Regions from separate parts of the Homo sapiens genome. Here all the other regions are linked to region 5. The links are contacts of gene promoters, found by promoter capture Hi-C in blood cells and fetal thymus (Javierre and others, 2016). All regions are on one chromosome and are shown on one strand. The core of a region is centred on a gene start or on the middle of the fragment in contact, and the rest is flanking DNA. Distances in the headings are between cores, read along the strand shown. Region 1 overlaps LOC105377448 (a long non-coding RNA gene). Region 2 overlaps ELF2 (E74 like ETS transcription factor 2). Region 3 overlaps LOC105377448 (a long non-coding RNA gene). Region 4 overlaps LOC105377448 (a long non-coding RNA gene). Region 5 holds the start of SLC7A11 (solute carrier family 7 member 11). Region 6 has its middle 240 kb from the start of NOCT. Region 7 overlaps LOC105377448 (a long non-coding RNA gene).

Region 1 (4,112 bases), core at 743-3,242, 620 kb before region 5:
CTCTTCTCTCTGCCCTCTTTTCCTATCCTTATCCAAATGCAGATACCAAGAATTGTGGAAGGGATTGGGGGGTTATCTCTGTAAATCTGCATAAGGGAGGTCTGTCCCAATCACTTTTATATCATTAATTGTTTTGGGCTCATCAGTAGAAATGGAGGTGAAAGAGTCTCATTCTAATGTCCCGTTTTTTGAGGACTGAATGACATTCTATGAGTGAACACCAAATGGGACAAGATCTCTGTCAACTATCAAATTTTGTGCAAATGTCACTTCTTAGCATCGCCATTCTCTGCTAATATGATAATGGATTCTTATTACAACTACTGTCAAGAAGGATGGAAAAACCCTTTCCAGCTTGAAAACGTACTTTCTGGAAACAGTGCTGCAGATCCTGGGAGGATTAGTGAGTGGTCATCTGTAGTAGGAGAGCAGTTAATTTCGGATGCTGTGTCAGAGATTAGGGACAGTGGCAAATTGTGTGCTGTGATTGTGCAGTGGAACTAACCATGCTGTGGAGACGTTCCCTATGCAAGTTGTATGAGGGCAGATAATGACAGGCAAGTGACTGCAACCCGAGGCGGTTGTGTCTAAAGTCAAAGGGAAATTCAGTCAGCTTCACTTAATAGCTAAAGAATGAGAGGCCGAGGGTGGCATTCCAGGCAGAGGCCTTGGGAGTGCAACTGGAAAGGAGAAGGGGCTGCATGGGGCGGGCACGTGTGTGGTGGGTATATAGTGTGTGTGTGCACAGTGTGTGGAGTATACAGTGTGATGTGTGGTGTCGAGTGGTGTGTGTGTGGGGGGGTGTATAGTGTGGTCTGTGTGTGGTGTGTCGTGTATACTGTGGTGTGTGTGGTGTGTGTGTTGCATGGTGTGTGGTTTATGTGCATTGTGTGGAATATATTGTGTGTGGTGTGCATGTGGTGTATAGAGTATAGTACGGTATGTGTGGTGTGTTGGGGTGTGTGTGTGTGTGTGCATGTTGTGTGAAGTATAGTGTGGTGTGTGGTGTGTGTGTATGTGTGTGCATGGTGTATGGTGATACTGTGTCGGAGTGTGTGTGTGGTGTGTATGGTATATGGAGTATAGTGTGTATGCGGGTGTGGTGTATAGTGTGTGTGGTGTGTAGTGTATAGTGTGTGATGTGTGTGGTGTGTGGAATATAGTGTGGTGTGTGTGTGTTTGTGTACATGTTGTGTGATGTACAGTGTGTTGTGTGGAGGATAGATGGTGTGCAATGTAGTATGTGGGTATATGTGTGTGGTGTATGTATGCTGTGCTGTGTGTGTGGTGTGTATTGTGTGGTGTGTGTGTGGTGTATGCATGCTGTGCTGTGTGTGTGGTGTGTATTGTGTGGTGTGTGGTGCCTGTGTGCCTATAGAAGATGGAAAGGTGTCCTCAGAGATTAATTAGACGCTGACTTGGTCTGACAGAAAGTTGAGGGAGGGGAGGTCTTAAGAGTCAATGTGGAGGTTATACTTGATAAATAGTGAATGTTGAGTCAAATTGGGTTCCCTCAAATCAGGTTTTTCATCACAAAAACAGCACATGCATGCAGCAACACATGACGCATTCTAAAATGTGCATACATCAAAGGCAATGTGTCCCACCGCCGTCCTGCTCAGCTGCTCCAAACTTGTTCCCTTTGTTCCCATCCTGGCCCAGCGCAAGGCTCGATTTCACCCTGAAGTCACTCTCTAGTGCTTGTGTCTCACCTGATTAGGGCCAAGGTGGCAGCTCATGAGTGTCTGGTGTTGCTGGACTGGAGACTGGGAGTTTTCCACTGGAGGGTGGTTGGGAGGCAGGCACAGGGCTGTGCTGGGTAGACTTGGGGAAGCAGATCAGTGCCACTCCACAGGGGACACCACCGGGTGACAACAACCCTTGGTGATGGGTGGTCCTCACCTTGGGGCAAAGCGGCAACACCTCAGCCCCTCTCAGCTTGCTGCAGCTCCCTGGGGCCTGCTGGACTTTCTCTTCTGTGGGGGATCATAGCTGCTCCTTGTCACCCACTCCTGCCCCTGTAATATGCCTCCTCCATTTCTTCTCTATAGACATGGGGGTTCTACCTAAACCTCTGCTCTGTCAGTGTATGGCAGAATCTTCCTGCCCTAGATTTAGGGCAAAAACAAATTTTTTTTTCTTAAAAATTGAGTATTTGCAACATTTTTCTTGTTCTGTGGTCTGTGGTTCATGCCAGGGTAACTATAAAGGGGTCTGGTGAGACTAGATGGGGGAGAAACATAACGATTAATAATGTGAAAGATTCCAATATGTATAATTTAAGAGTGAAAGCCCATCATCATGTCATCCTTTAGAGAAAACCACTGCTTACATCTGCTGTGTATTCTTTCACATTATTCTAGGACTATAATGACGTGCACGAATAAGATATAATTATGACAGTATTATTTACAGAAATGGGATCTTCCTGAAAGTACTCTTCTGCATATTGCCTTTTCCACTCGACACATTCGGACATCCTTCCACACTGTCCGCTGTAAATCAACCTCAGAATCTTAGTGGGGAGGAGGAGGAGGATAGTATTTTGGGGAAGTTGCTCAGGCAATTCTGATAGTGAATCCTCCCTCACTCCCCAGGTGCTGCGGCGTGACCCCTCTGTGATTACAACCCCTGCTCTCGCTGCTCCATGCCCACAGGTGCTGTGCGTCAGTGCCACATCAGCATGCTCTTGATCACTTTCTTGACTTTAAAAGCGTCCTCTTCCCTCCCTCCCTCCCTTCCTTCCTTCCTTCCTTCCTTCCTTCCCTCTTTCCTTCCTTCCTCCTTCTCTTTATCATTTCAAAAAACCACTGAGTATAAAGGATACCATTAATGTGGAAAAAAAGAAACCACAGAAAGGCTTTTCTCTACCTTTTCTTTCCTGTAGATAGAACTGTAACTGAACTTTGAGCGCTCTGAGGAAGGAGACATACTCAGATGCCCACCAAGTAACCCAAGGTCGTGCAGTCTATAGAATGTGGCTTTTTGCCCCTTGGGAAAAAGCCCAGGAGGATCAGGGCTGTCTGGAAGGAGGCTCTGCATGGAGCCTCATGGCTGAGCAAGGAGTCCTTTAAAAGTAACATTCCTTCCTGTCACTGATATTAGGTTTTCTCACAAGGTGTATTTGTGCTTCTGCCTAACAGCATAGAAGGAAACAATGCAAACAGAACCAGAGCAGCCACTGAACTCCTGTGATGTTGTCACTAATCCGGTTGGTGTGGAGAGGAGCCAAGCTGCCAACCGCGTCCCCCACCCCCACATCGCCCTCACCGAGTGCTTGGGTTCCTGCCTCTATCAATCACAAGGCTTATATTCCGAGGCTGGAGGTGGTGCCTCTACTCAGCACTACCTCTGTTTTCACACAACCTCTATTCTAATCTTCATGGTCAGGGTCAACAACAGCATTTCAGCTTTTCCCCGAGACAAGGGAGATAGTTCAGCAAATATCTCTCTAACTTCAATATTCTGTCTCTGTCAGATCAATAAGGAACATTTTTTGACAAGTCTGATGTTCAGTCTTTAAGAGGAAGATAACCTTCCTGAGTGGAGAGAGGAAAGATTTCTGTGCCATGACATGATGACTCTTGACTTTCATCCTCAGCTTTGTGGAAAGTAGTGTTTTAGGGTAATGGGTGGTTGGTTGACTCCTTTTGCCTCTGTGACAGCTTCTTTCTACAAGGACTTTTTTCTTAAGCTCAAATACCAAGGCTAGTAACAAGCATTACAAACCATGACACCAGCAATCCTCAAGAGGAATAAGGAAAAACAAACAAAAAAACATAGCCAGCAAGTAAACGGCATTCTTTGATTTTCTTAGGAATAAGGGACACCGTTCTACTACGGTGTCTCAGGAGGAGTTACCCTGACACAATGGGTGAGATTTCCATTCAGTAGAAAGTTAATCTCACTGTTTTACAATCCTTTCTCTAGTGTTTTATTTTGGTGACTCTTCCTTTCCATTTTACCAATGAGAAATTTGAGGTACTGATAGGCTTGGTAAATATTACAGAGCAAGTGGAATTTGAAACCTTTGTTTTTTGCTTATTAAGAGAGGGTCTCTTTTTTTGGGTGGGGGAGAGGATCTCACTCTGTCACCCAGGCTGGAGTGCAGT
Region 2 (4,199 bases), core at 617-3,116, 840 kb before region 5:
TGACTAGATGATTGCTAATGACTTTTAAAGCTCTAAAATAAGTGGCTTGGAAATACTTAATGGAAAGGTAGGGCTTCTCCTTGGGTTTTTTTTTTTTTTTCTAATATTACACCATGTGAATGAATATGTCTATAAGTTCGTTATGTAATTGGTAGGTTAACTTCTTTTATCCAGTCTTTGAAAATAAAAATGTGTGCCAAATTGGAACTTGAGGCTCTTTATATGTTTAAGTCTGTAATATAGTCTAATTAATAATTTAGGCTCATTTCTAGTGTATATAGCTTAATATAGGAAAAACAAATGTCTAGCATTGTTACTTTCCTAATATTTATGTTAAAGTATTGTGTATGAACAGTCTGGATTTTCTGGAAGATTTCTGCCTTATTCTCAAGTATACCTTTCTTGACTTTTTCCTTTATTTGTCTTTTCTTATTTTATTTTATTTTTACATTTGCGAAATAAGGTAATCAGAAGTTTTGGTCAACAATGCAGTTATTAAATGAAGGTGAAATTTTTCTGGAAATTTAGCCTAAATATTTTCACTGACAGAAAACAAATCTATTTTATTAAAGTTCATTATGAAATTGAAAATCTCATTTCTGATTTACTATAAATTGGAATATGTAGTCTCAATCTTGAAAAGATCAAATTGAAAAAAAATTAGCAGTATGAAAAGAAGTTAAAAGCAGTATGTGAATAGATACATTAAAATGAAACTCAAGGAATGACACTAGTTTTCTTTTTAAAAAGCTCATTTGAAAATGAATTTAAGAAATTACCCTTCACAATTCATTGCAGCATTGGTACTAAAATTCATGTAAAAACTGAGTTACATGGTCACATCAGTCAGTGTGTAAATAGCCAATCAGAATCATTCAACATAAAACTATTTTAGAAACAAATTTGGTTGGTGGAGAAGGGCAGGCAGCAGAATGTTCTTGATAACTATTTAAAATAATTCCTCATGTTTGATAATTGTTTAAAATGATTCCTTGTGTCATCTATAGCAAAATGTTCAAAAGGATGCAAAGAAATGCTTAAGAAGAGCTTTTTAAAAACCATTTATCTGTGAGTAGACAAATACTGTTTTACTTACAGAATCATAATTTTTATTTTTTTTACATTTATTTTATTTTTTGAGATGGAGTCTCCCTCTGTCGCCCAGCCTGGAGTGCAGTGGCACAATCTTGGCTCACTTCTGCCTCCCAGGTTCAAGTGATTCTCCCACTTCAGCCTCCCAAGTAGCTGGGATTACAGGCGTGAGCCACCACTCCTGGCTAATTTTTGTATTTTTAGTAGAAATGGGGTTTTACCATGTTGGCCAGGCTGGTCTTGAAATCCTGACCTCAGGTGATCCACCTGCCTTGGCCTCCCAAAGTGCTGAGATTATAGGTGTGAGCCACAGCTCCTAGGCTAGAATCATAATTTGTCATCTACACCCTGATGTTTATGTTTAGAAGCTAAAACTTATATAAGCATGGGGATAGAATTTGGTTGTTATTAATTACAGTTGATGAATTACAGCTGCGCTTCTCAAAAACCAAACTCTCTGACCCGGATTCTGGGAGTCCCAAGAGCCTTTCACAGGATCTGTAAAGACAAAACTGTTTTGAAAATAATACTGGGACATTATTTGCCTTGTCACTTTCAAAAGTGTACAGAGGAGTTAGGAGCTATGTATAGATGGGTTATTCCAATAGATTGAAAGAGGAAGGAGAATTCAGCTGCCTTCTATTGAATCAAGTATAATAAGATTTGCAAAAATGTAAAAAACAAAGCTACTTACTTTTTGTTTTTTATTTTAAGTTATTTTTGGCCAGGCATGGTGATTTATGCCTGTAATCCCAGCACTTTGGGAGGCCAAGGCAGGAGGATCTCTTGAGTCTGGGAGTTTGAGACCAGCCTGGACAACATAGTGAGACCCTCGTCTCTAAAAAAAAAAATCAAAAAATTAGCTGGGTGTGCTGATGCGTGCCTGTGGTCTCATCTACTTGAGACGCTGAGGTAGGAGGATCACACCCCAGGAGATCTAAGCTACAGTGAACCATGATCATGCCACTGCATTCCAACCTGAGCAACAAAGCGAGACCTTGTCTCAAAAAACAGTTATTTTTCATAAAAAATGTTATTTATGGTTGCAGTAATGGGTGTATTATTTTAAATGAATTAATAATTTTGAAGTTTTCTTTGTAATTTCAAATATGATAAATACAGATAAAATCTCGAGGTCTTCAGTATTTTGAGTGTAAAAGTGTCCTCAGATAAAAAAGGTCGGAGGATAGCTGAATTACAGTGTTGTTTAGGTCTGTACTGTATGGTAGCCACTAGCCGCATGTATCTGAGTACTTAAAATGTAGCTAAGAAACTCAATTTTTAATTTTAATTAATTTAAACTTAATTTCTGGCTGATCTCATCTTGCAGAGGGCAGTTCGCTCTCCCCCTCCGAGAGTGTAAAAAAAAAAAAAAAAGAATTGCCATTCTTTTTCCTTTTTATACTTTATAATGCAAGTATATTGATTAAAAGGTCAAGGGGGAAAAGGTGAAGATGGAGTATTCCAGACCTTTAATTACCTTTTCCCCCTTTTTATTGCCTTCATTTGTATTCTTCATTTACCTATTACTGGTATAGCTTTGGGGCATTAGAGGATAAGTAGTGGTAAATCGGGTGCTGCAGTTGACTGAAGACCTTGTACTATTAGTTTATAGTGTTGCTTATAGGAGAATACCACTATCACCTAATGAAGTGTTTTCTAATTTTTTTTCACTGCTCTCAAACTAAATTGCTACTAAATTTTATTTTTGACTTGAGAACATTTTTATGAACTAGATCCATTGCCAGCATTCTTTTATGCAAAGCTGAGAGGTATGCCTCTTGTCAGACTTAATTACCAAGTTTGGTATTTTGTAACAGCTGTTGAGTGAGTCTGGAATAGTCTTCAGTACCATACAAACACCGGTTGATTAGAAAGATAGAAATGGAACAAGAAGATATTTACCAATATTAAATGAAGGTACAAGCAAATATTATTTTTGGTACTGTAATAAAAAGTAAAACAGTTCTTGAAATTTATTTCAAGGGGGATTGACCAGCAATAGCCACTACCAGTGGTAACTAGAAAATGATACCTGTCAGACTACTTTTAGCTTCATTGTTTCTATTTTTAAAATGAGTTATTTATTTTTCCTTCTATAAATTTCATAGATGTAGAAAGATACCAGTAAGTCAAGTTTTAAGTAAGATAAGGAATTCTACTTTTCAGCTCTTGCTTGTAGCTTGCTTACTTTGATTGCACAACACTGTTAAATTCATGCTTATTCTTAAATGTGCAAAATTATAGTTTAAATTTTATTTGAATTATTGATCTGAACAAAATAGTATTTTTTTTTTAATTACAGACACAAGTAGGAGAAATATTTCTTAAATTTCTGTTAAAAGTTACTTGACTTATGTAAACAAAAATAAAAAGATAGTGCTCACTTTTACAAAATGTGTTAAGTTTTGGAAACTGGCATTAGTACATTATTGTAAATTGATCTGAGAACAGCCTCTTAGATTTTTGTATTTTGCATTATTTTAGTTAGTAAATAAAAATGATGAGATAAAATTAGTAAGCAGTAAAAAAGTAATCAGTGTTCCTCTTAACATGCTTGTAACTTACAAAGTAAGTTTATTTTACATTTTTATTTAGTTTTGAAATATCTTCCATTTAATGCTCTCTGAACTGTAGATTGAGTGTTCTAAAATCTGAAACTGAGCACTGATGTGACACTCGAAGTGCTCATTAAAGCATTTTGGATTTTTAGATTTGGGATGTTCCACTGGAAATATATAGTGCAGATATATATTTTTTTAAATTCGAAATCTGAAACACTTCTGGTCCTAAGCATTTTGGATAAGGCATGCCCAACCTATAGTAGTATAAGCTTCATGAGGCCAGAAATCTGTTCACACTTGTGTCAGGTTTATAGCACAGGGTCTGGGCACATGGTAAATGTCAGCAACGATTTGTCAGTTGTACGTAGAGTATTAGATCTTCTGGCTGATAACTTCATAGGTAATTTATGCATATTTTATGTTGTCATCGTAAATTTAAAGTATGAATGAGTAAATTTTCTAAGTATGTATTTTACTCTGTAAATATAAAATATTTCTGAGATATAATATGTTGAATTTTAGGGGGGAAGGGGAAGTTGAGGT
Region 3 (4,148 bases), core at 807-3,306, 720 kb before region 5:
AGAATAATTAGATTTTCATTTTTAAATCTTCCTAAATAATGCAGAATAAAAATGTCATTTCGTTTTTGCTTTTTAGAAGATGGTTCATACTGAAAAATATCATTTCTTTCGTATCAGAAATTTGAGACACATCGAAAAATTGAGAAATATAACTTTTAGAGAAACAATAAAATTTGGACATTAGGAAATCCAATAATGCAATTCACATGTTAATAAATTGAAAGAGCTCAAATGATGATCTCATTAGATGTTGAAAAAGCACTCAATAGAATTCAACGTACATTCTTTATTTGAAAAGAAACTATTAACAAGCTTTGATAAGGGCAGAAGCCACTGTAGATATAATGATGAAACATCAGAAGATTTCTATTGAAGATGGGAGCAGGACAGGGATTCCACCATCATCATGTTAGGGATTTTTGTTTCATATTGTTTTCAGAAGCATATTCCAAATGAATTAGAAATTCAAATATTCTGTAATCCCAGTACTTTGGGAGGCTGAGACGGGCAGATCACCTGAGGTCAGGGGTTCAAGACCAGACTGGCCAATGTGGTGAAACCCCATCTTTACTAAAAATACAAAAAAATTAGCCAAGTGTGGCAGCAGACACCTGTAATCTCAGCTACTTGGGAGGCTGAGGCAGGAGAATCGCTTGAACCCGGGAGGCAGAGGTTGCAGTGAGCTGAGGTCACGCCACCACACTCTAGCCTGGGTGACAGAACGAGACTCTGTCTCCAAAAAAAAAAAAAAAAAATTTCAAACGTTAAAAACTTTCCATGAAGGCACTAGAAGGTAGTATAGGAGAAGTGTTTTTGTTTGTTTGTTTTTTTGTTTGTTTTGTTTCGTTTGTTTGTTTTTTGAGATGGAGTTTCACTCTTGTTGCCCAGGCTGGAGTGCAATGGCGCGATCTTGGCTCACCGCAACCTCCGCCTCCCAGGTTCAAGCGATTCTCCTTCCTCAGCCTCCCGAGTAGCTGAGCTGGGATTACAGGCACGCGCCAACACGCCTGGCTAATTTTGTATTTTTGGTAGAGCTGGGTTTCTCCATGTTGGTCAGGCTGGTCTTGAACTCCCGACCTCAGGTGATCCGCCCGCCTCTGCCTCCCAAAGTGCTGGGATTACAGGCGTGAGCCATCGTGCCCGGCCTGTTTTTTTTTATTTTTTAAACGAACTTGGGGGTAAAGATGGCCTTTCAAAAAAGTCTGAAACCACAAAAACCATGAAGAAAAGATGGACAGATCTGTCCTCATAACTATTTTAAAAACTTCCATTTAATGAATGATGCATAATTAAAGCTACGTGTCAAATAGCAGAGAGAGGAAGTGTTTTCACAGAACCATATGAGAACCATAATATTTAAAGGGATTCAAATTGCAAGAAAAAGTAAGTCAAAAGAAAAGGGCAAACTTAAGGCAATTTACAGAAAAAGAAATATAAATGGCTGAGAAACATCTGAAAATTATTTAATCTCACAACTAGGGAAATACGAATAAATACAATAATAATATGCTACCTTCATTCTCCAAAATAAAGTAAAAATATAATCTCACATTCAGCTGATGGAAGTGTTCGTTGTTGTAACCCTTTGTGGAGAGCACTTTGGGAATATCTCTCAAAACAGTAATGCTCAGGCTGGATGTGGTTGCTCACGCCTGTAATCTCAGTGCTTTGGGAGGCCATGGTGGGAGGATTGCTTGAGGCCAGGAGTTCAAGGCCAGTCTGGGCAACATAGCAAGACCTCGTCTCTACAAAAAATAGAAAAAATTAGCCTGGCATGGTAGTGTATGCCTATTCAGGTCCCAGTTATTCAGGAGGCTGAGGTGGGAGGATCGCTTGAGCTTGGGAAGTCAAGGCTGCAGTGAGCTGTGTTACTGCACTCCAGCCTGGGTGACAGAGTAAGATGCTGTTTAAATAAAATAAAAGTAAAAATAAAAATAAAAATAAAATACAACAGTAACGCTCACACGCATTGATTCAGCAACATATGTATAATGCACATGGATATTTATTACAGCAGAGTCGGCATTAAAGAAAATCTGAAAATAGCCGAACTGTGAAAACTAAAAACAGCTACCAAACACTTATGGTTCAGTGATAACTCTACATCTGCAAAGGAGAGTCAGGCAGTGCTGGATGTATTGACACAGAAGATGTTTCTGACTTAATATTAAGCAAGTTTCAGAACAATATGTTTAATACAATCCAACATATGTAATAAAAACATAAAAGATTTATAGCACCTATATGTGTAAATAGATACAGATATATAGAAAAAGTCTGGAGGGGTCCACTGTGAACAGCTAATCATTGCTTCCCATAGAAAGTATGATGTGCTTATGAACGTGACATGTTTTCAGAAAAAAAAAAGTATATTGTGGTGAGTCTCAACCCTATCGGGCCTGAGGAGAGATGAACCGAGATTTTGACTTTTGTACCCTGTATACCTCTGTACTGTTAGAATTTTTAGACAATAAATGTACATTTGTTGTATAAAAAATTAATTATAAAAAGAGAGAAATGTAATTCATATAATGTATAGAGCATTGTTGTTTTTCTTTTTTTTTTTTTGAAATGGTGTCTCACTCTGGCCCCAAGCTGGAGTGCAGTGGCGCGATCTCAGCTCACTGTAAGCTCCGCCTCCCGGGTTCACGCCATTCTCCTGCCTCAGCCTCCCGAGTAGCTGGGACTACAGGCGCCCACCACCGCACCCGGCTAATTGTTTGTATTTTTAGTAGAGACGGGGTTTCACTGTGTTAGCCAGGATGGTCTCGATCTCCTGACCTGGTGATCTGCCCGCCTCGGCCTCCCAAAGTGCTGGGATTACAGGCGTGAGCCACTGTGCCCCGCCGAGCATTGTTGTTTTTCATAAGCAGACATTAGAATGCAGCCAATGTATATGAAATGATTTAGAATTTTTATCCATCAGTCTAAAAAAAATAGTTTTCATCATAGGTGGGAGAATTATTTTTTCATTGATAAAATATTTACTTTCATTAATGTCAGTTAACTTCATTTGCTATTTCTCTCCTTGGAAAAGTTGCCTGCTGGGCCTTCAACCCTGGCTCCTGAGAAAGGAATCTGAGTATAGGCAGAACTCAACTAAATGCAAGTTTCTTTTATCGGAAACTTAGTGTTAAAAGAAAAACGTGTAGAGATATTGCTAGCTGGTTGAAGTCTGTTGTAGAGTATGATGGGTTATTATGAAATTTCAAACACCAGAGGTAGATTTCTCCCTCCCATCCCATCATTTCCTCCCTCCTGATGTGATTCTGATGAGTGAAAACAAGAACTAAGTTCAAGTTGAAAGGTCATTAGGAATATTTAGACAATTCCTACGTCACTAGTGAGGACCCTTTCCCTTCCCTCCCCTCCCCTCCCCTCCCCTCCCCTCCCCTCCCCGTCACTTCCTTCTTGTGACGATTAATTTTATGTGTCAACTTGACTGGGCTAGGGCATGCTCATATAGCTGGTTAATGTTATTTCTGGGTATTTCTGTGATGGTGCTTCTGGAAGAGAGTGGAATTTGAATCAGGAAACACAGTAAAAAAGATCACCGTCATCAGTGTGGGTGGGCATCATCCAATCTGTTGAGAACCCAAATAGAACAAAAAGGTGGAGGAAGGGCTAATTTGCAATCCGCTTGAGGTGGGACACCTGTCTTCTCCTGCCCTCAGACATCAGTGCTCCTGGTTGTTGGGCCTTTGGGGCTGGACTGGAACTACACCACTGGCTTTCCTGGGCCTCCAGCTTGTAGATTGTAGATCACGGGACTTTTCAGCCTCCATAATCACGTAAGCTTATCCCTCATAATAAATCTCTTGCTATGTATCTGTGTACAGTTGATCTTTGAGCAACAAAGGTTTGAACTGATGGATCCACTTATAAGTGGATTTTCTTCTGCCTCTGCACCCCTGGAGCAACAAGACCAATCCCTCTTCTTCCTCCTCAGCCTACTCAACATGAAGATGAGGATGAAGACCTTTTTATTCTTTTCTTTTTTTTTTTGAGACAGAGTCTCACTCTGTCACCCAGGCTGGAGTGCAGTGGTGCAATCTTGGCTCACTGCAACCTCCACCTCCTGGGTTCAAGCGATTCTCCTGCCTCAGCCTCCTGAGTAGCTGGGATTACAGGCACCCACCACCATGCAT
Region 4 (4,054 bases), core at 303-2,802, 710 kb before region 5:
GCAAGACTCCATCTCAAACAAAACAAAACAAGCAAGAAAACTGAACAGTCCTGGGCAAACTGGGACAAAGTTGTCACCCTAGGCCTAGCTATCCTAACCCAGTGGGTTTTATTCTTCATACATTGAGAGGAACTCTGTGAAATGAGTCTGGTCCTGTGGACTTGGTTTTATGTGATGCTATAGACATTTAGGAAATCTCTTCAGCTCAGCAGAGCTCAGATAGGGGAATTACTATTTCTCTAAGGGGCATTTGGGGAAGATTGTGAGTGCTGTTTATTGCAACCATAACTGGAGTGTGCTACTGACATTAAGTGAGGTGAAGCACTGCCCATGGCAGTCCTCATAAGGAATAATTGTCCCACTTAAAATGCCAGTGGTGACCCATTGAGAAACTATGCGGGACTGCCTAACCCTGTTTTTCAAGCTCCGAGTCTTGCTAAAGAAGTCAAATCTCCATTCTGTCCTTCTCTGGGGCCCCTAGCCTCAGTGATGTCTCCTGGGAGGTAAGAAGCTTCTAGAGAGTGTTATTTAAAGGAGAAAATTACATGCAGAGGTTTAATATTTGTGAAATGTTATCACTTACAAAACAAAGGCCTCAGACTCTCTGTGATCAGTGAAAAAGGGCTCTGCAGCAAGAAGTAGACTTCTTAGAGAGGAGAAGAGTATGGGACAAGAGTGTTGTAGAATAGAGTGTCCTGAAAAGTAAGATGGAGCATAAAGCAGAATGAGTCTCCTCGCCATAGAGGCCAATGCATCTATGAGAAGAAACAAGAGATCAAGTCCAGAAACTTCTGTACATCCTTTACAGGTCAATGCATAACTATGCATATAGTTCTCGTAACAGAGCAGACCCATTTGTTATCGTCATAAAATTCCAACTGAAAGAAAACATTCAGGCATTGTAATATAAATTTATCTTGGATGGAACAAATTTAGCATCAACATTCTGAAGCTCAGAGTGAGCAAAATGGCTAATCACTCCTGATAAAATGCTGTCTTCATGAGGCTTTTCTGGCCCTGCTGCTGGAGGTAAGAGCCCTTGTAACAGAGCCAGCTCAAAACAATTTCTGGTTTACATAGAGGCTCTTTCTTTGTTATATGTAATAGTCAATTTTCTTTTCTTTCTTTCTTTCTTTTTTTTTTTTTTTTTTGAGACAGGGTCTCCCTCTGTCGCCCAGGCTGGGGTGCAGTGGTGCAATCTTGGCTCACTGCAACATCCGCCTCCTGGGTTCAAGTGATTCTCCTGCCTCAGCCTCCTGAGTAGCTGGGATTACAGATGCCCACCACCATAGCCCAGCTAATTTTTGTATTTTTTAGTAGAAATGGGGTTTCACCATGTTGGTCAGGCTGGTCTCGAACTCCTGACCTTACGTGATCCACCTGCCTTGGCTTCCCAAAGTGCTGGGATGACAGGCGTGAGCTACCGTGCCAGGCCTATATTAGTCCATTTTTATACTGCTATGTAGAAATACCCAAGACTGGGTAATTTATAAAGAAAAAGAAGTTTAATGGACTCACAATTCCACATGGCTGGGGAGGCCTCACAGTCATGGCAGAAGGCAAAGGAGGATCAAAGACATGTCTTACATGGCGGCTGGCAAGAGAGTTGTGCAAGGGAACTGCCGTTTATAAAACCATCAGATCTCGTGAGACTTATTCAGTATCATGTAGGGATTATGGGAGCTACAATTCAAGATGAAATTTGGGTGGGGACACAGCCAAACCATATCACTATAACAAAATTGTTATAATATTCAGTTTTTTTGGAATGTATTCATCCATAAGCTCTCCAATATTTATTTATTTATTTTTTAGAGTCAGGGTCTGGTTCTGTCACATAGGCTGGAGTGCAGTGGTGCAATCATACCTCACTGCAGCTTTGAACTTCTGGGCTCAAGTGATTCTCCTGCCTTAGCTTCCTAAGTACCTAGGACTACAGGCGTGTGCCACCATGCCCAGCTAATTTTTGTATTTTGTTTTGTAGTCTCAGGGTTTTGCTATGTTGCCCAGGCTTGTCTTGAACTTCTGGCTTTAAGTGATCCTCCCACCTCAGCTTCCCAAAGTGCTGGATTACAGGATTGGGCCACTGTTTCTGCCCCCATATTTAACAAATGTGTAGCAGGTCATGTACATAGGCTCACTTAACATCTAGTGCAACCCCCTTCTAGCCTGTCTTCCTTTATAATAGAAGCAGAAAAGCTAAAAATATTTCCCAGACTCTTTTGTAACTAGGGTTCTAGTTTCCACCAAGCATGACCAAATGTCTGGTTTCCCTTGAGCAGTCTGGTTTATGCCTGTTGTCCTGGCATAATTATTGAAAGGGTTTCTCCTTCATGCTCATAGTCACCAAAGGGACTTAGAGTGGTGCTGATGATTGGCTGTTTTGGCAAGTCTGCAGGCATTAGTTCTTCCAGGGCAGGTGGCAGAGTTTCTGATGTGTTACAGGTGATGATTGGCATGGCAATGGTGACAATGCTGTTTCTGCTGGACTAGTCACATGGAATGGTTGGGCATTTTTCTGGGATGCTTTGTTTCTGGCTGTGAAGCATCTAAACCTATTCCCCTGGTCTTCCTGAAAAGTCTATAAGCTTCCCAGTATATTTACCTTATTCCATCGATTCTAAGATGTACATTTCCCCCACTTTTACATTCCTGAAATTGGGATGCTTCTTATAATTCATGACATATTGTAATTTAATTAGCAATAATATATCTTTCTTAATGGATTATAAAACAATGATGTGCCTTAACAAATAATGACATCTTAGCTTCAATGAAAAACAGTAATAAATGCCTTATTGCTTGTCTTTATCTGCTTGGGCTGCTGTAACAAAATGCTATAGACTGGGTGGCCTAAACAATATAAATTAATTTTTTCATAGTTCTGGAGGCTGGAAGTCCCAGACCAAGGTTCCAGCTGATTCTGTTTGGCTGAGGACTCTCTTCCTGGCTTGTAGATAGCTGCCTTGTCACTGTGTCCTCATGTGGCCTTTCCTCAGTGTGCGTGTGTGTAGAGAGAGAGAGAATCTAAGAGTGTTGTCTCTTCTTATGAGGGTGCTCATCCTATAGGAACAGGGCCCCACCCTTATGACCTCATGTAACCTAATTACTTCCTTGGGGCCCCATCTCCAAATACAGACACACTGAGGATTAAGGCTTCAACATATAAATTTTGGGGGATGCAAACATTTAGTGCATAACACTGATTAGATCATAATCAAGTAGATTATATTGTTTGCAGGTGAATATCCTGAACCATATAGAATGTTAAAAAAAAAAAGGAACTTAACATGGCTGGGATAAAGAAACTTACAAAAGTTTCCTAGATCACTTATCCTTTTTAAAATTCTATCTGGTTTTCAAAAAGATATTGTACAAATGGAGACTTTCTGATAGAGAATATGAAATATTTCACAATACCTAACAGTCCCATAAAAACCCGTATTACTTGTTCATTTCTAGGGTGGCCTTAGTTTTTCTCTGTCATTCACCTTTCACTCTCTTGCTATATCTGAATTCCTCCCCTCATTTCCCTTCTTAAGTCATAAAAGAAACTTTTACAAGATACAATTGTTATGCAGCACTGTATTGCATTTTTTTTTAATACTGTTTACCACAAGGTGGTCCAGGACTGAGCAGATTTATGTAAATCAGGTAGTTCCCCTGCGATATTTCTATAACATAATGATTATCATCATCAAAATTACTGAAGTGTGTATGTGATAACTATGATAAATGTCTGTCAGCACGTCTTACTGTTCTTCTGACACGTTTCTTACATTTGATTCTTTCCATTTCCCCAGTACTGTCCTATCTGGCATTTCACTATCTCTCATCTGGATAATTGCAACATTCTCTGAGTCTAGGCTTGCCTTCACCTTCTCCACCTATTCTCTTCACAGAGACCACAGGTATCTCAGGCATCTTAGGAGCTGTGAGGCTTGGGAGTTGTGGATGAGCAGAAGCAGGGCCATAGGTGCTTCTGGTAAGAGGTATTAGACATTTTCCCTACCTGGGTATTCATTCATATTCATTGCTTTGCACAGGAGCTGGG
Region 5 (4,189 bases), core at 1,255-3,754:
CTGTTTAGAAATATCCCAGCTCAGGTAATATTCCAATACTCTGCAGCCAGAGCACTGGATTATTTTTGGCCAGGCCTAGATGATATGCCTGTATTTATAACCATGGGACAGAAATTGTTACTAGAAAACGGTAGCTACCAGTATACATTATTTCTATTTCTATTACGAGATGCTGTGAGGAAGCTAGGACTATTTCTTGTGCACAATAAGCAGTAAATAAGTATTTGCGAATAGCACTAGGATAGTCTCATAATTTGACAGCTATACTTAAAATAAGGCCTAATACAGGATGAAAAATATGTATTCATTTGCTTTGAACACATTTTTATGATACACAAGTATTTGAGGACCATCCAAACTCTTAGTTTACAAGCTTAGAACTGGCAATTTTAAGAGTTCAAGGCAATTCAACATTTTCTTTATAAACTGCATTTTCTACAGATTTTGGGGTGCTTAGAAGAGGTACACTGGTGCCCTTAGCAGCAATGTGCAGCTTTGCAAACATTCTGAGTGGTGGCCTCTATCTTACATGAAAGTACAATCCTTTTGGTTTTTAGTCTAACATCAGCCATTTTTCTTCATAATTAAAAAAAAAATACTGTGAGGAGGAAAATGTTATTTAATATTGAAAGAATAATCGTCCTTTATAATTCATTCAGTTTCCTATCTGAGTGGGGTCTTTGGCTCAACTTATGAGTTCAGTTATTTATAACAAAATTTAAAATTAAAGTGTGACACTGTGTTAATTAGAGAAAGTTGCTGTTCCCTGAGATTCCTAGTGTCCTACTTTTACCTCATATTTCTTCAGAGCTAATATGTTTCTCTTACTGGGAAAGAAGAGCTGCTCCTTAGGTCCATTAATCAGGAAAATTGTGTGAGTGAAAGGAGATGTAGGAGGAGGAAGAGAATTGGAAAGAAAAGAATCTCTATTTAGCTTCCTTCTTTGGGAGTTTTAGCAGGATTGCATGAGGAAAATGATCCATTTTTGTTTTTTGAAAGACATTAACAACTGAGAAAAAGTATTTATTTTGGTTTTATAAAAACTTTAACTTGGTGTAGCTGAAACCAATTATATAGAATTTAGATAGATAATTTAAAAAGGAGAAAATGTAGCCTCAATTATTTGGATGGCAAAGCATTGAGGTGGTGTCATTTTCTCAGGTGTCAACATAACAGAAAATGGTTCTGACCTTTTCCATGCTACTTTCCTAATGGCGATTTCTCATTTCTTTCTTTGATCATCCTCACCATACTTGACTCCCTTCTTTCCCTGCCAACCTCTCGCACACAGGCTTTTTGTTTGTGGTTTTTGTTCAAAGGTTCAGAAGCTTATTTAATGGTGCGTATAAAGGTAGCTTCAGGGTAATGATAACATTCAATTCTTCTCACTGAATCCAAAACCACATGTAACTATAGCCAAAAATGATATCTAGGATTTCTTTTCTTTTCATATTTGTTTTTTCTTGACACTTGGTTGAGAAAGTTAGAAGGGTTTAAAAATGTTTTGCCTTTTTGACTATTGCAAAGTAAATATTTTAATTTAGCTTACATTTTTAATGCATTTTAAATTTATAATAATAACAATAGTTTATATAATGTGGAAAAAAGTCATACATAATATCATTACTTTCTATAACTACCATTCTGTTTTCCTTTACAGGCTTTTGCTATATACATATTTTTATGTAATTGTAATTGTGTAATTTTGAACTTAGAAATTTTTTTTGGTAATTCAAAGGAACAACATGACAATGAAGGATATGTATCTTTTACATAGTTCAAAAAAATCACCTAGTGCTAATGAGAATCAGAAAATGACTATTTTCTGGAGTCATGGTGAATTTTGTATTAGTCACACTCGGATGGTGATTTAAAATACTGGTTTATTATGAGTAGTAAGAAATAATTTTATCTTTTAATGTTGAGGAAGGCTTATAGTTGTGTGTATGTGACAGAAGTATAAAGTGTAGAATCTTTAATTTTGTAAATATTGGATTTGACTGTATTGCCTTATAAAAAACTCAAAATAAAAAAATAAAAAGCATTACACAAATTATGAAATTCAAACTGTGTTGTTATAAACAATGTAGCTTTAGGATACATTCTACTCACAAAACAGTCGCATGTAAAATGTTTTTATACACGCATTAAAGAAAAAGAAACTCCTTAAAATGAAGTAACTATTTCCTGTTTCATTTTGTTTGAACAGCTTTTGTTGCTCACTACGAGTTGCTTTAAATCTCTGGGAAGGTCTGTTCCGAATTTACTACTTCTGGATTGGCTAAAATCTCTTTAAAGTGTGTGCTTTGTTCTCTAAAAAGCTTAGGTCAGTTGAGCAACAAGCTCCTCCTGTTTTTTTCTTTTTTTAAAAAAAAGAGCTGAGTAATGCTGGAGGCTTCTCATGTGGCTGATGCAAACCTGGAGAATTTGCATCATCATTTAGCTGTAGTAAGTTGGTGTGACAGGCAGGCGCTTAAATACAAGCCCATGAGGAAGCTGAGCTGGTTTGTAATGATAGGGCGGCAGCAGCAGCAGCAGCAGCAGTGGTGGAACGAGGAGGTGGAGAATTGAGAGCACGATGCATACACAGGTGTTTCTGAGTAGTAATTAGATCGCTGTGAAGGAAAAAGCACACCTTTGAGTTTTCACCTGTGAACACTATAGCGCTGAGAGAGACAGTCTGAAAGCAGAGGAAGACATCGATCAGTAACACCAAGAGACACCAAAGTTGAAAGTTTTGTTTTCTTTCCCTCTGTTTTATTTTTCCCCCGTGTGTCCCTACTATGGTCAGAAAGCCTGTTGTGTCCACCATCTCCAAAGGAGGTTACCTGCAGGGAAATGTTAACGGGAGGCTGCCTTCCCTGGGCAACAAGGAGCCACCTGGGCAGGAGAAAGTGCAGCTGAAGAGGAAAGTCACTTTACTGAGGGGAGTCTCCATTATCATTGGCACCATCATTGGAGCAGGAATCTTCATCTCTCCTAAGGGCGTGCTCCAGAACACGGGCAGCGTGGGCATGTCTCTGACCATCTGGACGGTGTGTGGGGTCCTGTCACTATTTGGTGAGTGCGACTTTTTCTCTCGTGGGGGCGTGGCTGTGGGGCTGGAAAGCTTGCTTTCTGGGAAAGCAAATGGTAGTTTTTGAGGAGTGAATGGATGGCAAAGGCCACACCAAATTTTTAAAATTTTTGTTCGGGTACGTGAACTACCCAGATGCAGCATCCGCTGTTGGTGTGATCTGGAACACCCTCAAATTGCTTCCTACAGGCTGTACTTTCTTTTCCTGACTAAGACAGGCTATCTTCTGACTTTTCTCTGTGGTGATGAGAGCAAAGGCTAACTTTCATGACCCAGTAAAAAACATGCACACTTTCTGTGCCGGGCAGTTGTACACTTAGCTTGGGCATTCTGGCAGCTGGCATGCTGAATGAGACACCTGTGAAGTGGAACCTGGCATGGGCTATTTAGACATAGAACGGAGTGTTCAGCAGAAGTCTTACTGACTTTTTATTAGCCAAACAAATGGGTGGCAGTCTTTATAAAAATATTTTTTAAGTTCATGTGCTTGTCACCTCTTAATATCCTTTCAAAAGTCCTTGACATGGGAGAGATGTATGATGGCGCATAACTCAATCCCTATCATAATGGGGTATATTGCAATGGCCTGAGCATATTTCAAATTACTTTTCAACCTTTCATCTCTTCTCAATACCCATACACTTTTGCAATATAAGTTTTAAAACTTCAGTTGGGCGTTAGTTTTCTGTACTTGCCCAGATCTGTTTTTTTCATTATATTTCACTTGTTCTCCAGGGACACAGAGAATTTGTCCACCTGTTCACTAAATTAATCTGAAGGGAACTGGCAGAAGTATAATTATGAATTTTTCTTCAAAGTTTATGTCTCTTCTATTGATCTGAGAATTAATAGTAAAGAGGTAAATAAATGCCCCCTTATGGAGTAGGCAAATTACTAGAGAGCTACCTGAGTTTGTTGTAAAGATGATAAAAACTGGTGAACTGTCAAACATTAAATTTGATTTATGCTATGAGGATTTATTTACTCTTCTTGGGAAAGATTCTGTACTTTAAAGTTGCTCTTTGTCTTAACTCTGGGACTAACACTAACTAACAAGTACTAACGCTAACTCTAGGACTAATTAACAAGTACTAACTCCTGTTCCCATGTGTA
Region 6 (4,103 bases), core at 1,570-4,069, 530 kb before region 5:
TCAACTGACAAACATTTATTTTTTCACAGTTTCTGTGGGTCATATCCAGGAACAGCTTAGCTGGATGGTTCTTGTTCAGGTTTCTCACAAGGCTGAAATGATCTGAAGCTGGACTGGCACTGGAGAATCGGTTTCTAAGCTCAGATTAGAAGCTCTGGGCAGGAGGACTCAGTTCTCACCAAACAGACATCTCTATAGCACTGCTCACATCATGGCCATTGGCTTCTGCCAGAGTTAGTGACTGAAGAGAGATAAAGAGTAGAAGGGAGCAAGATGGAATCCAATGCCAGAAGGAATAGCTTGTTACTTCTGCTATCTTCCACTGTCCACACAGACCCTGTACAATACCAGAGGGGACTGTACAAGGCTGCGAAGCCCAGGAGGAGGGGCTCATTTAGGGCCGTCTTGAAGACTGACCACCACACCTTCTGTCTTGGATTCCATGTTTTCTTTCCTTGGTTGACTCTTTTCTTTCAATGGATTACATCTTCTAGGAGCATCTTGAAAAAAGGCTTTCCTGGGAAGTAATCTGTTTTAGATGTTGCCTTCGTGCATATGTCTTTATCCTCAATCTTGAATGATGATTTGAGTTTAGAATTCTAGGTGGATAGCATTTTTCTTCAGCATTTTGAAGGCATTTCATTTCTCCATTATTGTGTAATTCTTAGAGTTATTATTCTCAAGTCTAATGCCATTCTGCATCTCCATTGTTTTTGTGCTCTTGAAGCTTTTAGGATCTTCTCTTTATCCCTTGTTTGCTGGAGTTTCATATCTATGTGTTTTTTTGCTTTTTCACATATTTATATATTTTCCTGGAAACGTGATAGACTCTTTTAACTTGGAAACTCAGGCTCCTCAATTCTGTGAAGATTTAATTTTTGTTTATCTGGTAATTTTCCCAGTTAACTCTTTCTGGGGTTGTATTTGTCGCAAGTTTAACTGGTATCAATTCTCTGATCTTCTAAGTACTATTTTTTTCTATTTTCTATTCATTTTTCTTTGATCTACTTTCTGAAAGACTTCCTCAGCTTTATCTTACAAAACTTTAATTAATTTTTAAATTTCGGCTTTTATGTTTTTAATATCCAAGAAGCCCTTTGTTGTTGATGAATGTTCTTTTTTTTCTTAAAAAACAAAAAACAAACAAAAAAACCACATTGTCCTTTCATTGGTTTTTTTAATAATTTTGTCTGTTTTTTTTTCCCCATTGGATGCTTTCTGAGGATGTATGTTTTAGTCATTCTGGACTGTCTATTAGCACACAAAAGTGCAACAGCTGCAGCTATTGGAACTGTGTGTGCAGAGGTGAGGCTTGCTAAGACGTGGGCTTTAATTTTGGGTAATTGGTTGGGGCTGTTTCATTGATGGATATCCCAACTCTCAGTATTTATAGGTTTTTTTCTTTTCCCCCTTCTTGGCTTGTTTCTGTTTCCTCAGAGAAGAATTACTCAACCTCTCACTTAGGGTGTGTGTGTTGGGGCGTGGGTAACAAACGAAGAGGCCAGGATTCTAGGAGCTGAGTAAGGCAAGAGGGATGAGGGATCTCATTGAACCTTGTGCTAAATTCCTCCCAGTTTCCTGTTTTAGTAGGGTATTCCTCAGCTCTGCCGGCTTCCCTGAATCTGGAGATTGTCAGGGTTCAGCCTCTCAGTAAATTGCCAGCACAGAGAGACAGTCACCTGACAGTGCTACTCGAAAGAGGAACTGGGGGAAGGGTTTCACTGCTTCATAGAGGGATTTTCTTCAAAGCTTCTCTGTCTCAGGGGTGCCCTTCTTCTAGACTTCATCGCTGTCTTCTACAGCCTTCGTGCTGCCTTCTGTTGGGGAACATTTACCTCGTCTGTTCTGCACATAGAGAGATGTTTATTAGAACAGCAGTTCTCAGAGTGTGGCCCAGGGATCTCTGAGGGATGGAAGGTCAAAATATTTTTTCTAAAAACACTAGATATTATTTGCTCTTTTCACTCTCATTCTCCTGTAAGTGTGCAGGGGGAATTTTCCAGAGGCAACATGACATGTGATATCACAACAGATCGAATGCAGAAGCAGCTGTGATAATCCAGCTGTCTTCTGTTAAGGCAGGCATTACAGATACTCTGTAAAAATGAACAACAAGGACACTCTTCTCATTATACTTTTTGGTTTGGAAGAAATTATTATGTTTCATACAATATGTTATTCACGTTAACATCTACTGGGTTTAGTAATAGTATTTAAATAAATAAATACTAAAAAGTATCAGTTTTATAGTAGATATTTAAATATATAACTAGCATGAACAAAAGCTCTTTGAGGTCTCCAATTATTTTTAATAGTGTAAAAGGGCCTTGAGACCAAAAAGTCTGAGAGCACTGCGTTGAAAACAATGCTTCTGGATTCTTTTTTCTCGTCTTGACTCCCCCCCAGGCAACAAGGAGTGACATACTTAATTGGGGAGAGCTGGGAAGGAACTGGGCAGGCATAGCTCAGCCCTTTCTGCTCACCTTTCTTTGAGGAAATCCCAAGATCTTAAACTGAAGTTTCGCCTGTCTGAAGCAGAGTATGTGCTCTCTTTAGCTCTCGGCCCTGTGTAGGCTTAGAGCCTGCTGGCTCTATTCTGTGGTAAGACTTGAAATGGCTCAGTATTGCTTGCAGTTATATTAGGTAAATCTGCCCAAATCTGAAGTCAGCAAATTTATCCAATTCAGGCAGAATAAGCTATGCTTTCTAATATCGACTTTATCAGCAATCAAGGAGATGTTTAACTTAAAAAGTTTAATTTTGAAATAATTTTAGACCTACAATTTGCACGAATAATACAGAGAATTTCTGTATGTTCTCCCCCAGCTTTCTTTAATGTTAACTTTTTACATAACCACAGAACAAAGATAGAAAGCAGGTGATTCATAATACATTACAATTAGCTAATCCATGGAACCGTATTTGAATTTCATTACTTTTTCCACAAATGTTTTTCTAGTCCAGTGTCCAATGTAGGATTCCAGATTAAAGGTGACATTTGATCTTCCGTTGTCTGGCATCCGTGTCTATGTCATAGTACTCCACTGAGGAAAAAGGAGGGTGTTAGTTATCAGTCTCATTTGGCTCCCAGGACCTCCAAATCTTGTATCTTTCTGGGATTCTATGATGTGAAAGAGTTGGCTCCTATTGTCTTCTTACCTCTCTCCTCCAGCATGATAGTTTCCAGCCTTCTCTCTTTGACTAACTCAGTTACCAGGGGTCCACCTCCTTTTCATCTTCCAGAATTTTGTGGATTCTTCTCTTTTGTTGTTGTCTGCTGTCTTGTTTGCTGTGATTTGCTTTCTGAGAGACTTTTTGTGTGTGTGTGTGTGAGACAGAGTCTTGCTCTGTTGCCCAGGCTGGAGTGCAGTGGTGTGATCTCGGCTCACTGCAACCTCCACCTCCCAGGTTCAAGCGATTCTCATGGCTCAGCCTCCTGAGTAGCTGGAATTACATGTGCATACCACCACACCTGGCTAAATTTTGTATTTTTAGTAGACGGGGTGTTTCACCATGTTGGCCGGGCTGGTCTGGAACTCCTGACCTCAAGTGATCTGCCTGCCTTGGCCTCCCAAAGTGCTGGGATTACAGGTATGAGCCACTGTGCCTGGCCGAGACTTCCATTTTTCTCTCCCCAGTCTAGGGCCAGTGGTCAAGCCCCGTTCATGCTCTGAGAACTTGAGAGTTAATGTATTTATTTATTCCTTTAATATTAATATTGGATAAATTTCAGAAAAAAAGCAGAGATAAATGAATAGGTTTAATCTCCTTGTTTAATTACGAATCTGGCTCCTGATGTATAATCCCCAATTTGTACATTATTTTTGCTTTTCAATTGAAAACCTTATTTAAATAGATTTAATGATTACTGTACTTAAATGAAGCTTCCTAATTGCTCTTAAGTCAAATAAAGGCTATGAAAACATTGGGTAGCTTTTTCACAAATTTTACAGATATGTTGATTTATTGTAATCAAACACATCTAGGCCCTGATTAGAATGCTTTTTGTAGCTTACCTTGCACTTCTTAGCTTGGAATCAAAAGCCATGTCCAGGGATTTGCTTTATCCTTTAGGCTTGGCTGGTATCCTGGTGCCTCCAGCT
Region 7 (4,150 bases), core at 584-3,083, 680 kb before region 5:
TTTTTGAGACAGGGTCTCACTCTGTTGCCCAGGCTGGAGTGGAGTGGTGTGATCGTGGCTCACTGCAACCTCGACCTCTCTGGGCTCAGGCGATCCTCCCATCTCAACCCACCTGCATAGCTGGGACTACTGGCACATGCCACCACACTCTGCCAATTTTTGTATTTTTTGTAGAGAAAGGGTTTTGCTGTGTTGTCCAGGCTGGTCTTGAACTCCTGGGCTCAAGTGACCTGTCTACCTTGGCCTCCAAAAGTGCTAGAATCTCCTTTTTTTCTTTTTATTTTCTTTCTTTTTCCCTTTAGTTTTGAGAGAGAGTCTCACTCTGTCGCCCAGGCTGGAGTGCAGTGGTGTAATCTCGGCTCACTGCAACCTCCATCTCCCTGGTTCAAGCAATTCTTGTGCTCCAGCCTCTCAAGCTCACACCATGCCTCGCTAATTTTTGTATTTTTAGTAGAGACAGGGTTTTGCCATTTTGGCCAGGCTAGTCTTGAACTTCTGGCCTCAAGTGATCCTCCTGCCTCCAAAAGTGCTGAGATTACAGGCATGAGCCACCATGCCCGCCTCCTTTTTTCTTACATTGCTTTGAAGAAATAAAAATCTTTTTCAAATTGATTACTTTGATTATTCAATTTGCTTCGATGTGACCTCTGATCATAGGTTGTATAACAGTGGTGTAGTCTTTGCAGTGTTTGGAAGGTCTCAATGACAACCCCCGTTCCTTGGGTTTAGACAATAGTCAGCATTCAGATTTATTCACTCCTTTTTTTTTTTTTTTTTTTGAGACAGAGTCCTGCTCTGTCACCCAGACTGGAGTGCAGTGATGCAATCTTGGCTCACTGCAACCTATGACTCCTGGGTTCAGACGATTCTCTTGCCTCAGCCTCCCGAGTAGCTGGGATTACAGGCGCCCACCACCACTCCCAGCTAATTTTTTTGTATTTTTAGTAGAGACGGCGTTTCACTATATTGGCCAGGTTGGTCTCAAACCCCTGACCTTGTGATTTGCCCACCTCGGCCTCCCAAAGTGCTGGGATTACAGGTGTGAGCCATTGTGCCTGAGCTTATTCACTCCTTTCAAAATGGTCAATTAGTTTCCAGATACAAATGAAAATGAGAGCTGATCTGGCATGGGGTGGGAGGAAGCTTTTAGGCTCAACTGGGTCTTCCAGGAAATCTCCTCTCCTCATTTCTTTCCTCCTCACCCCTTAAACTGGGTAGAGACTCCTCTTAGCTGCTTCCATAATACCCCTACACATATCTCAATCATTGCACTCACACCTTTTTTTTTCCTTTTGGCTGTATTACCTGGTGTTACAAGGGCACTTATTAATCTTTGTTAACCAAAGTTTAATGGCCAGACTAAAATATTTCAATTGCAGTGATTTTCTAAGATTATAATTCAGAGTCGTAAGAATTTCCAAATTAGTAATAAAGCTTCTTTATATACTATTAGTACATTTCTTATTCTATTAGCAGAAACATAGAAAGTAATATCAGTGAGGACATCCACTGTGGGAAGCAATTCGATCAAAAAATCAGGGAGTGCAAACCCGAGTGTCTGCTTTGGTCACTTAGAGAGTGTACACTTGCTCATTGCAGATATTGGAAAGTAAATGGGGGACAATTTGAGGGAATCACTGGGTCCAGAGAATAATTTCTGATTTCTCTTGTCTGTCCCCTTTTACGTTAGGCTCTGTTATTTTTTAAATGTCTGGATTCTGGATGATAAGGTTAGAATTGGTGCTGATTTTATCACCGGGATGATGTATCCTTTAGATTTTCCTTTCTATTTTAGGGTTTTATGATTAAGATGAATTTCAAAACTTAAGCAAATATTAAATTCAGAATAATCAGTCTGGGCTCCTATGAAGTCCTATGTGTGTTCTCTCCCTGTGGTACGGATGGCCTGTCTCTCCAGGCACCTTCCTGGCCTCTGCTTGGCATTCTTCCCATGGGCATCTCCATGGGCATGTCCTTGCACTGCACATTTCAATTTCTGGGAGGATGCCCATCTCTGGGTGCTCTGATGTGCACCTGGTTTTCATGCCTTTCCTAAATGCTCCCCCAGCCCCATCAGTCTCATGGCGGATACTGCCTGAAAGGGCCTATCTGGCTCAACCCTCATGTTGTTATTACTTTCTTTCCAAAAAGACCTATTGAGCATCTACTATATGCCAGATTTTGGACCAGGAAATGGGGACACAACAGAGAAAAACATAGACTCAAGCTTCTGGACTTTCAAGATTCTCAAATTTTTATAGCTTTTGCTGAAGAGAAACTAAGATCTATTCAGCTTTAAAAAAAATGTTTTTAAATTTTTTTATTTTTCGAGATGGGGTCTCGCTCTGTCACCCAGGCTGGAGCACAGTGGCACGATCTTGGCTCACTGCAGCCTCTGCCTCCGGGTTCAAGTAATTCTCCTGCCTCAGCCTCCTGAGTAGCTGGGATTACAGGGGTGCACCACCACACCCGGCTAATTTTTGCATTTTTAGTAGAGACAGGGTTTCACCATGTTGGCCAGGCTTCCATTCAGCTTTAAGATGACATCTTTTTTTCTAGCATGATTTCCTTTGTGAATCCACAGGGGAAAAATAGGAAATTAAAATGCACAACTGTAAAAAAAAATCATAAACTTTTCTTTCTTTCTATTTTTTTTTTTTTTTTTTTTTTGAGACAGAGTCTCACTCTGTTGCCCAGGCTGGAGTGCAGTGGCACGATCTCGGCTCACAGCAACCTATGCCTCTCAGATTCAAGCAATCCTCCTGCCTCAGCCCCCCTAGTAGCTGGGATTACAGGCACGCGCCACGATGCCCAGCTAATTTTTGTATTTTTACTATAGACAGGGTTTTGCCATGTTGGCCAGGCTGGTCTCGAACTCCTGACCTCAGGTGATCCACCCACCTCAGCCTCCCAAAGCACTGAGATTACAGGTGTGAGCCACCATGCCTGACCAAATCATGAACATTTTGAGCCTCTTTTATCACCTGTAAAATTATGGCAACATTCAAAATACCTAGACTTATCAATTTAAACTTTTAATGTACCATTATTCTAAATGAAATGATTAATTACATGACTTTGTATGAAAAGAAAAATAATTGTGGTTCTTTCCTACCCCGAACACCTTCCACTAAAGTAAACTTCATGTGTGCCACACAGCCACGTATAACACCAGCTATTTTAGTGCCAATAACAAATAATTAGTTTGATTATATAGATTGTTAATGTGTTATATATATGTCCTCTTCCTAGAGGGTGAGGACTCTTTTTCATATTTGAGTAGCTAGAACATAGAAGAGTTCAATAAATATTTGTTGAATAAAGGCAGATGGAATTTAGGAAGCATAAAAATGGGGTGACCCTTTCCTTTTTTTTTTTTTTTTTTTGAGACAAGGACTCACTCTGTTACCCAGGCTGGAGTGTAGTGGCTCAATCTTGGCTCACTGCAGCCTCAACTTCCCCGGGTTCAACCCATCCTCCTGCCTCAGTTCCCCAAGTAGCTGGGACTATAGGTGTGAGCCACCACACCTGGCTAATTTTTGTATTTTTTTTTTTTTTATAGAGATGGGGTTTCACCATGTTTCCCAGGCTGTTCTTGAACTCCTGGGCTCAAGCAATCCACTCACCTTGGCCTTCCAAAGTGCTGGGATTACAAGCATGAACCACCACACCTGGCCTGACCCTGTTTTGAAGTATGGTGCTTAGGATGGAAAGAAGGGAATGAAAATAGAAAGCTAAGGGTCCCATACATGTATTGCATGTTTACTCTACCTCTAACTGTGCTAAGTACTTTGTGTACATGACACAGAAGAACTCATATTTAATTTCATGAAGGAAGAAGCATCAGTTTAATTTTACAAACATGGAAACCAAAGCTTAGTGAGGTTGTGCCATGTTCAGTCACATGCCTGGCAAAACCATAGCTGTCACTCAGGTCAGAAAATCAGATTCACTTCAAATTTAGTGCCAGTTGTCATCAATATGTACTGTATCTTACAGACACGCTTTCTCAATGCTTGAGTTTGGGCAAACCTTGCTGGCAGGGTTCCTCCCCACCCCCTAGCCTGTGTCTCGCCTGTGTCTTCTGGATGCTAAGCCTGTGAATATTAATATTGTGACAGAGAATATCAAAGTGTGAGTTTTCCTTGAA

Evidence for each region. The method cuts DNA at HindIII sites, captures the fragments that hold promoters and counts their contacts. A CHiCAGO score of 5 or more calls a contact.
Region 1: a contact is called between a fragment that was not itself captured here and the fragment with the promoter of SLC7A11 in region 5, in 3 of 17 cell types (M2 macrophages, megakaryocytes and M1 macrophages). The highest score is 8.1, in M2 macrophages.
Region 2: a contact is called between a fragment that was not itself captured here and the fragment with the promoter of SLC7A11 in region 5, in 1 of 17 cell types (erythroblasts). The highest score is 5.1, in erythroblasts.
Region 3: a contact is called between a fragment that was not itself captured here and the fragment with the promoter of SLC7A11 in region 5, in 4 of 17 cell types (M1 macrophages, monocytes, M2 macrophages and 1 more). The highest score is 7.2, in M1 macrophages.
Region 4: a contact is called between a fragment that was not itself captured here and the fragment with the promoter of SLC7A11 in region 5, in 2 of 17 cell types (M1 macrophages and M0 macrophages). The highest score is 6.5, in M1 macrophages.
Region 6: a fragment that was not itself captured here is called in contact with the fragment with the promoter of SLC7A11 in region 5 in 3 of 17 cell types (M0 macrophages, megakaryocytes and M1 macrophages); the score reaches 6.8 in M0 macrophages.
Region 7: a fragment that was not itself captured here is called in contact with the fragment with the promoter of SLC7A11 in region 5 in 1 of 17 cell types (M2 macrophages); the score reaches 9.5 in M2 macrophages.

What each region holds. Positions count from the first base shown.
Region 1 is chr4:138,864,278-138,868,389 of GRCh38, reverse strand. All of the region lies in intron 2 of LOC105377448 (a long non-coding RNA gene), which reads left to right. Among named protein-coding and RNA genes, the nearest start is that of NOCT, 150 kb to the left of the region's middle. RefSeq lists an enhancer at 1,802-2,303. The HindIII fragment of the contact is 9,708 bases long and covers 1-4,112 here.
Region 2 is chr4:139,076,845-139,081,043 of GRCh38, reverse strand. All of the region lies in intron 4 of ELF2 (E74 like ETS transcription factor 2), which reads left to right. Among named protein-coding and RNA genes, the nearest start is that of NOCT, 63 kb to the right of the region's middle. The HindIII fragment of the contact is 4,123 bases long and covers 1-3,927 here.
Region 3 is chr4:138,962,786-138,966,933 of GRCh38, reverse strand. All of the region lies in intron 2 of LOC105377448 (a long non-coding RNA gene), which reads left to right. Among named protein-coding and RNA genes, the nearest start is that of NOCT, 51 kb to the left of the region's middle. The HindIII fragment of the contact is 3,484 bases long and covers 315-3,798 here.
Region 4 is chr4:138,945,450-138,949,503 of GRCh38, reverse strand. All of the region lies in intron 2 of LOC105377448 (a long non-coding RNA gene), which reads left to right. Among named protein-coding and RNA genes, the nearest start is that of NOCT, 68 kb to the left of the region's middle. The HindIII fragment of the contact is 2,077 bases long and covers 514-2,590 here.
Region 5 is chr4:138,240,664-138,244,852 of GRCh38, reverse strand. It overlaps SLC7A11 (solute carrier family 7 member 11), which reads left to right and starts at 2,504. Exons shown (of 12, transcript NM_014331.4): 1 at 2,504-3,060. The coding sequence starts at 2,784. RefSeq lists enhancers at 2,250-2,489, 1,959-3,158. The HindIII fragment of the contact is 788 bases long and covers 2,324-3,111 here.
Region 6 is chr4:138,773,607-138,777,709 of GRCh38, reverse strand. No RefSeq gene overlaps it. Among named protein-coding and RNA genes, the nearest start is that of NOCT, 240 kb to the left of the region's middle. RefSeq lists a silencer at 2,440-2,623. The HindIII fragment of the contact is 2,135 bases long and covers 1,752-3,886 here.
Region 7 is chr4:138,920,468-138,924,617 of GRCh38, reverse strand. The region is part of intron 2 of LOC105377448 (a long non-coding RNA gene); the gene reads left to right. Among named protein-coding and RNA genes, the nearest start is that of NOCT, 93 kb to the left of the region's middle. The HindIII fragment of the contact is 793 bases long and covers 1,437-2,229 here.